2 separate regions of the Homo sapiens genome follow, and region 1 is linked to region 2. Evidence: promoter capture Hi-C in human tissues and cell types (Jung and others, 2019). All regions are on one chromosome and are shown on one strand. The core of a region is centred on a gene start or on the middle of the fragment in contact, and the rest is flanking DNA. Distances in the headings are between cores, read along the strand shown. Region 1 overlaps ANGPTL4 (angiopoietin like 4). Region 2 holds the start of MYO1F (myosin IF).

What was found. The method cuts DNA at HindIII sites, captures the fragments that hold promoters and counts their contacts. A contact is called where the count stands out against the background at its distance.
Region 1: a contact is called between a fragment that was not itself captured here and the fragment with the promoter of MYO1F in region 2, in 1 of the 25 tissues and cell types used here (spleen).

The regions. Positions count from the first base shown.
Region 1 is chr19:8,371,444-8,375,339 of GRCh38, forward strand. It overlaps ANGPTL4 (angiopoietin like 4), which reads left to right. Exons shown (of 7, transcript NM_139314.3): 6 at 1-79; 7 at 2,262-2,927. The coding sequence ends at 2,443. RAB11B-AS1 (RAB11B antisense RNA 1) reads right to left here. Exons shown (of 3, transcript NR_038237.1): 3 at 2,933-3,165. Among named protein-coding and RNA genes, the nearest start is that of ANGPTL4, 9.2 kb to the left of the region's middle. The HindIII fragment of the contact is 3,011 bases long and covers 813-3,823 here.
Region 2 is chr19:8,575,823-8,579,873 of GRCh38, forward strand. It overlaps MYO1F (myosin IF), which reads right to left and starts at 1,620. Exons shown (of 28, transcript NM_012335.4): 1 at 1,485-1,620. The coding sequence starts at 1,487. RefSeq lists enhancers at 65-124, 465-524, 695-874 and silencers at 995-1,044, 1,582-1,731, 2,952-3,146. The HindIII fragment of the contact is 34,715 bases long and covers 1-4,051 here.

The DNA.
Region 1 (3,896 bases), core at 1,068-3,567, 200 kb before region 2:
GGCCTCTCCGTACCCTTCTCCACTTGGGACCAGGATCACGACCTCCGCAGGGACAAGAACTGCGCCAAGAGCCTCTCTGGTGAGCAGGCCCTGCCATGCCACACCCAGCCAGCAGCTTCCCTCCTTATCTTTCTGCTGCTCTGTCCTGCCTTCAACCCCACATTGCATCTGTTTCCTGCCCCCACCTCTTCCTTACATGCCGTGTGTGTGATTGGGCCACTAACTTAGCCTATCTGGCCTCAGTTTTCCCATCCTGAAAAGGGTCTTGACCGTCTTTACTTTTATTTACTTATGTGTTTGTTTATTTATTTATTTATGTATTTATTTTTTGAGACGGAGTCTCACTTTGTCACCCAGGCTGGAGTGCTTTGTGGCACGATCTTGGCTCACTGCAAGCTCCACCTCCTGAGTTCACACCATTCTCCTGCCTCAGCCTCCCGAGTAGCTGGGACTATAGGTGCCCACCACCACGCCTGGCTAATTTTTTTGTATTTTTAGTAGAGATGGGGTTTCACCGTGTTAGCCAGGATGGTCTCGATCTCCTGACCTCGTGATCTGCCTGCCTCAGCCTCCCAAAGTGCTGGGATTACAGGCGTGAGCCACCGCGCCCGGCCTACTTATTTATTTTTTGAGACAGAGTCCCGCTGTGTCTCCCAGGCTGGAGTGCAAGTGACGTGATCTTGGCTCACTGCAGCCTCCGCCTCCTGGGTTCAAGTGATTCTCCTGCCTCAGCCTCCTGAGTAGCTGGGATTACAGGTTCCCGCCACCATGCACAGATAATTGTTTTGTATTTTTAGTAGAGACGGGGTTTCACCATGTTGGCCAGGGTGGTCTTGAACTCCTGACCTCAAGTGATCTGCCCACCTCGGCCTCCCAAAGTGTTGGGATTACAGGCGTGAGCCACAATACCCGGCCACAAACATCTTTATAATGGTGCTCCACAGGATTCTTTTTTTTTTTTTTTTTTTGAAACAGGGTCTCACTCTGTTGCCTAAGCTGGAGTGCAGTGGTGCGATCTCGGCTCACTGCAACCTCCACCTCCCGGGTTCAAGCAATTCTCAAAAAAAAAAAAAAATTAGGCACGGTGGCTCACACTTGCAATCCCAGCACTTTGGGAGGCTGAAGCGAGTGGATCACTTGAGCCCAGGAGACCAATCTGAGCAACAGGGCGAAATCCTGTCTCAATTAAAAATACAAAAAACTAGCTGGGCATGGTGGTGCCTGCCTGTGTTCCCATCTACTTGGGAGGCTGAGTTGGGAGGATCTCTTGAGCCTAGGAGATAAGGCTGCAGTGAGCTGAGACTGCGCCACTGCACTCAAGCCTGGGTGACAGAGTGAGACCCCTGCCTCAAAAGAAAAAGAAAAAATGCAGGCATGGTGGCTCACACCTGTGGTCCCAGCTACTTGGGAGGCCCAGGTACAAGAATCACTTGAGCCCGTAAGGTTGACGCTGCATTGAGCCATCACCACACCACTGCACTCCAGCCTGGGCAATGGAGCCAGGCCCTGTCTCAAAAAAAATTGTTTTTAAACTTAAAAATAAGGCCGGGTGTGGGGGCTCACACCTGTAATCCCAGCACTTTGGGAGGCCGAGGTGGGTGGATCACCTGAGGTCAGGAGTTCAAAACTAGCCTGGCCAACATGGTGAAACCCTGTCTCTACTAAAAATACAAAAATTAGGCCAGGCGCAGTGGGTCATACCTGTAATCCCAGCACTTTGGGAGGCTGAGGAGGGTGGATCACATGAGGTAAGGAGTTTGAGACCAACCTGGCCAACATGGTGAAACCCCCTCACTACTAAAAATACAAAAACTAGCCAGGCGTGGTGGCGGGTGCCTGTAATCCCGGCTACTCAGGAGGCTGAGGCATGAGAATCCCTTGAACCTGGGAGGCAGAGGTGCAGTGAGCCGAGATTGTGCCACTGCACTCCAGCCTGGGAGATAGAGTGAGACTCAGTCTCAAAAAAAAAGACCAAAAATTAGCCAGGTGTGGTGGCAGGCGCCTGTAATCCCAGCTACTCGGGAGGCTGAGGGAGGAGAATCACTTAAACCTGAGAGACGGAGGTTGCAGTGAGCTGAGATCGCACCACTGCACTCCAGCCTGGGTGACAGAGTAAGACTCAATCTCAAAAAAAAAAAAGTCAAGTCCAAAGCCCAGCCTGGTCCCCAACCTGCCTCATCCTCAACCCTATCCCTATCTCCTTTCAGCCCCATCGGTGGCTCAAAGACCTGACCATGTTCCCTCTCCCCTGACCCCGGCAGGAGGCTGGTGGTTTGGCACCTGCAGCCATTCCAACCTCAACGGCCAGTACTTCCGCTCCATCCCACAGCAGCGGCAGAAGCTTAAGAAGGGAATCTTCTGGAAGACCTGGCGGGGCCGCTACTACCCGCTGCAGGCCACCACCATGTTGATCCAGCCCATGGCAGCAGAGGCAGCCTCCTAGCGTCCTGGCTGGGCCTGGTCCCAGGCCCACGAAAGACGGTGACTCTTGGCTCTGCCCGAGGATGTGGCCGTTCCCTGCCTGGGCAGGGGCTCCAAGGAGGGGCCATCTGGAAACTTGTGGACAGAGAAGAAGACCACGACTGGAGAAGCCCCCTTTCTGAGTGCAGGGGGGCTGCATGCGTTGCCTCCTGAGATCGAGGCTGCAGGATATGCTCAGACTCTAGAGGCGTGGACCAAGGGGCATGGAGCTTCACTCCTTGCTGGCCAGGGAGTTGGGGACTCAGAGGGACCACTTGGGGCCAGCCAGACTGGCCTCAATGGCGGACTCAGTCACATTGACTGACGGGGACCAGGGCTTGTGTGGGTCGAGAGCGCCCTCATGGTGCTGGTGCTGTTGTGTGTAGGTCCCCTGGGGACACAAGCAGGCGCCAATGGTATCTGGGCGGAGCTCACAGAGTTCTTGGAATAAAAGCAACCTCAGAACACTTTGTTCTTTGTTCTTGTTTGTTTTCTTTCTTTTTTTTCTCTTTCTTTAGTTCACAGATCTAGTAAGTTACCCTCAGTTTGTTTTAAAAAGTGAACAAAGTCCATGTAAACATGTTCCCAGGGCCAGGCACGGTGTCTCGTGCCTGTAATCCCAGCCATTTGTGAGGCCGAGACAGGCAGGTCACTTGAGGTCAGCAGTTCGAGACCAGCCGGGCCAACATGGTGGAACCCCCATCTCTACAAAAAAATACAAAAATTAGCCGAGCATGGTGGTGCACGTCTGTAGTCCCAGCTACTCTAGAGGCTGACGCAGAAGAATCACTTGAGCCAAGGAGGCAGAGGCTGCAAATAAGCCGAGATTGCGCCACTGCACTCCAGCCTGGGCAACAGAGCAAGACTCCATCTCAAAACAAAAATAATTTTTTTTTCGTAGAGGCAGGGTCTCATTCTATTGTCCAGGCTGGTCTCAAACACCGAGACTCAAGGGATCCTCCTGCCTTGGCTTCACAAAGTGATGGGATTAAAGGTGTGAGCGCCACTGCACCCACCCCTGAAGGCTCTAATTCTACATCTGTGTTTTGTTAAAAAAAAAAAAAAAAGATGGCGTGGTCGCTCATGCCTGTAATCCCAGCACTTTAGGAGGCCGAGGCAGGTGGATCATCTGACATTACGAGTTCCAGGCCCGCCTGACCAACATGGTGAAACCCCGTCTCTACTAAAAATACAAAAATTAGCCGGGTGTGGTGGCGGGTGCCTGTAATCCCAGCTACTCAGGAGGCTGAGGCAGGAGAATCACTTGAACTCGGGAGGTGGAGGTTGCGGTGAGCAGAGATCATGCCACTGCACTCCAGCCTGGGTGACAGAGCAAGACTTGATTTCAAAAAAAAAAAAAAAAAAAAAAAGAATAGGGCTGGGCGCATTGGCTCACACTTGTAACACTAGCACTTTGGGAGGCCAACGAGCGGATC
Region 2 (4,051 bases), core at 370-2,869:
GGGTTGCCTTTCTTTCAAGTAGCAAATCACTTCCTGTGTTCTTTTGATCAAAGCCCTGCCCATCCCAGGACCTGAGCCTCCCTGGCTTGCTTCTCATCTTGGAAGAATTCCCACCCCAACAGTCTCAGAGCTCCAGCTGATGGTTTGGGTGTGAATTCCGGGATGCCCAATTTCTCATCAGCTTTCCTTTTTTGAGACGGAGTGTGCTCTGTCACCCAGGCTGGAGTGCAGCGGCAGGATCTCAGCTCACTGCACCCTCCGCCTCCTGGGTTCAAGTTATTCTCTTGCCTCAGCCTCATATGTAGCTGGGATTACAGGCGTGTGCCACCACGCCCAGTTAATTTTTTGTATTTTTTAGTAGAGACGAGGTTTCACCACGTTGGCCAGGCTGGTCTCGAACACCTGACCTCAAGTGATCTACCTGTCTCAGCCTCCTAAAATGCTGGGATTACAGGCATGAGCCACTGTCCCTGGCCCTCACTGGCTTCCTGAAAGAAGGTGTTGTCTCTCAGACTAACACCACCTCTGCCTCTTGCCCTATGTCCCTGACTCCACCCTAGTAAGCTGTACCTGCCAAGAATCCTGCAGTGGCCGCTGTCACAGCCACATGCTCTCATCCTCACTGACTGAATGACGAGAAATGAAAGCTGAAGTGGTCTACACAGCAGAGAGCTGTGGGGTGGGGTCAGCCCTGGCCACCTCTTACTTTGCGTCTTATGGTGGTACGATACTGCTAGGAATAGCGCCATGATCACGACAGTCTCCCCGTTGCTATCATCGACAGACCTCAGACTTGACAGGCAGCAACACCTCTGGCTGCCATCCTCCTCTTGGGATAAGGGATGCCCACCAAAGGGTGGCATGGACGTATTCAGCCTCTCCTGCCTCTGCTGCAGCCATACCGCCCGTCACCGGCACAGGGAGGGCGTCAATCCACCCCATCGCTTGTTAGACATAGCTTCCCATCTCAGCCGAGGACTCTGTGGCAGAACCCACAGACCTTGAGAATGTTGCAACTGAAAGACCCCTGAAGAGCAACTTCCGCATCTAGACGGATTTCCAAATATGACATCTGTGGGAACCGGGGCCAAGAGAGGGGAAGTGACTAGCCCAAGGCTACACAGGGAGACGAGAGACTGGGCTGGACTGGGAAAGGGCTCCCTTAATTTGCAAGCAAAGGAGGCTATGTCCTTGTCCCTGCAGACTCTGTGATTCTCCCTGGGCCACCTTCTGTCTTCCAGGTCCTGCCCTATCCTTGGATCCAGGGATACCACCCTGGCATCCCCACCACCTACAGATGGGAGCTTGCTCCCTGGTAAGGGATGCTGGAGGCACCTGAGCTGCACTGAGAGACACCCCACCCCCACAGAAGTCCACCATGCCCCTCCCCTCACCCCAATTTCTGATGGTCATTTTTAGGACACCTCCACCTGGCTGGTGTCCCTCCTCTTTCTTCTTCCAGATCCCACCCTTGAAGGACTTACCATGGTGGGGGGCTGGTGTCTGGGCTCCTGGAGGCTCCTGAATGGGTCGTGATGGAGGTGCAGGTTCAGGGGGATCTTGGGGGTGGCTTGGGCATGGCCCTGCTTCTGCCCGTTCACCGGACTCCCGGCTTTAGTTCCTCTTACAACAGCCCCTTCTCACTTCCTTTGGCGGGAGGGGCCGAGGCCATGGGGGAGGGAAGCTGGGTGTGGAGGGGGGCGGGGAGCTGGCTGTTTGGGGCTCTGAGCCTGAAGGGAGGGGTCAGAACTTGATGGCAGCCACTACTGGACCTCAGAGGCCTCTTCCCCAACTCCTTGGGGACAGGGCTGCTGCAGGAACATTTGGGTCAGCTGGCTGCAGGACGAACCACCTCTTTTCAGGGCGATTCAGGAAGCATTTGGGCTTCCCGGGTCTCTTTTTAAAACCAAGGAAGGGGCCCAGGGGAGGTGGCTCACGCCTGTAATCCCAATACTTTGGGGGGCCAAGGTTGGAGGATCGCTTGAGTCCAGGAGTTTGAGACCAGCCTGGGCTATATAGCATGACCCCATCTCTACAAAAAATGAAAAGAAAAAAAATTAGCTGGGCATGGTGGCATGAGCCTGCAGTCCCAGCTACTCAGAGGGCTGAGGTGGGAGGATTGCTTGAACCTGGGAGGTGGAGGCCTCAGTGAGCCCTGATTGCGCCACTGCACTCCAGCCTGGGCGAAAGAGTGAGACCCTGTCTCTAAAAACAAACCAGAAAAAACAAAAAAACCAAAAAAACAACAACAACAGGGAAGGGTGCCTTCTTCAGCTGTGTCTGCTCTGGGCATCCCTGGGCAACCTCCTTCATTATTATTATTGTTATTATTTTGAGACGGAGTCTAGCTCTGTCACCCAGGCTAGAATGCAGTGGTGCAATCTCAGCTTACTTTAATCTCCGCCTCCTGGGTTCAAGCGATTCTCCTGCCTCAGCCTCCTGAGTAGCTGGGATTACAGGTGCCCACCGCCACACCTGGCTAATATTTGTATTTTTAGTAGAGACGGAATTTCGCCATGTTGGCCAGGCCGGCCTTGAACTCCTGACCTCAGGTGATCCTCCCAACTCGGCCTCCCAAAGTGCTGGGATTACAGGCATAAGCCACCACGCCTGGCCCAACCTCCCTCTTTAGATGACCCTCAGAAGTCACACGTGTTTGTGTGCAGAAGTGGAGGGTACTGGGAAGCAGGTGCATCTGAAAGGTCCCTGACTTTGGATGTCACATCTAGATTTAACAGCCTCCAGTTTGGCTACTTCCTGGATGACTTAGTTACTCCCTTTTCTCATTGTAAAATGGGAACGTGGGTCCCCCCAGCAGAGCCTGGCCCAGGTACGTGTCAGCCTATGAGCTGGTCTTTGGGACACCAGCCAACCACCTGAGGCTCCTCTTGACATGTGAGGAAATGGCAGTTCTAATAGGTTGTTACTTCCCCACACCACCCAGCAAGGAGGTGGCCGAGGCAGGACCCGACCCTGGGAGACCCTGGGGGACCCATGTTCAGATCTATCTTTGGTCCAGGGCGATAAACCCGCATCCCCCTTGAAGATGTTAATATGCAGCGCCCCTAGTGGCCACAGCTGGGAAGGAGCCCGTCTCTGCTGGAATCTCCTGAGCGAGTTTGCAGAATTGACGGGCTTGGGGCATGCAATTCTCAGCAATGTCTCCAGGCACTCAAGAGTGAATATGAATGGGTAAGAGGACCCCACTTTGTTGGGGGCCATCAGGGGAGGCTTCTAGGAAGAGGCAACGTTTGTGCTGACACCGGCGAGTAAGCTGGAGTTAAAAAAGGTAAAGGGGCAGGAGCGTGCACCTGGCCATGCTAAGCGCTCAAGCAAAGGCCCAGATATGGGAAAACCATAGGGCAATTGAGGAAGTTCGGGGAGGCTGGTGTGGCTGGAGCATGCGGAGTGACGGAGAGTGTGATGGCCAGGGTGGCAGGTGCTAGACCGTGTGGCTTTAAGAGCCTCTGTGAGGGCCAGGCATGGTGGCTGATGCCTGTAATCCCAGAACTTTGGGAGGCTGAGGTGGGAGGATCGCTTGAGCCCAGGAGTTCCAGACCAGCTTGGGCAACATAGCAAGACCTCGTCTCTACAAAAAATTAAAAAATCAGCTAGGTGTGCTGTTGCACCTATAATCTCAGTTACTTGGCAGGGTAGGCAGGAGAATCGTTTAAGCCCAGGAGTTCAAGGCTGCAGTGAGCTGAGATCGTGCCACTGAACTCCAGCCTGGGCTACAGAGTGAGACCCTGTCTCAAAAAACAAAAACAAAAAAGCAAAACCCTTCCACGAGAAGCTGTTGTACTTTTCTCCTAAAATCCCTGGGTTCCTGTCTGCAATGTTAAAAGTCCCCTTCTGGCTGGGCACGGTGGCCCATGCCTGTAATCCCAGCACTCTGGGAGGCCGAGGCGGGCAGATCACGAGGTCAGGAGATCGAGACCATCCTGGCTAACACGGTGAAACCCCGTCTCTACTAAAAAAGTACAAAAAATTAGCTGGGCATGTTGGCGGGCGCCTGTAGTGCCAGCTACTCGGGAGGCTGAGGCGAGAATGG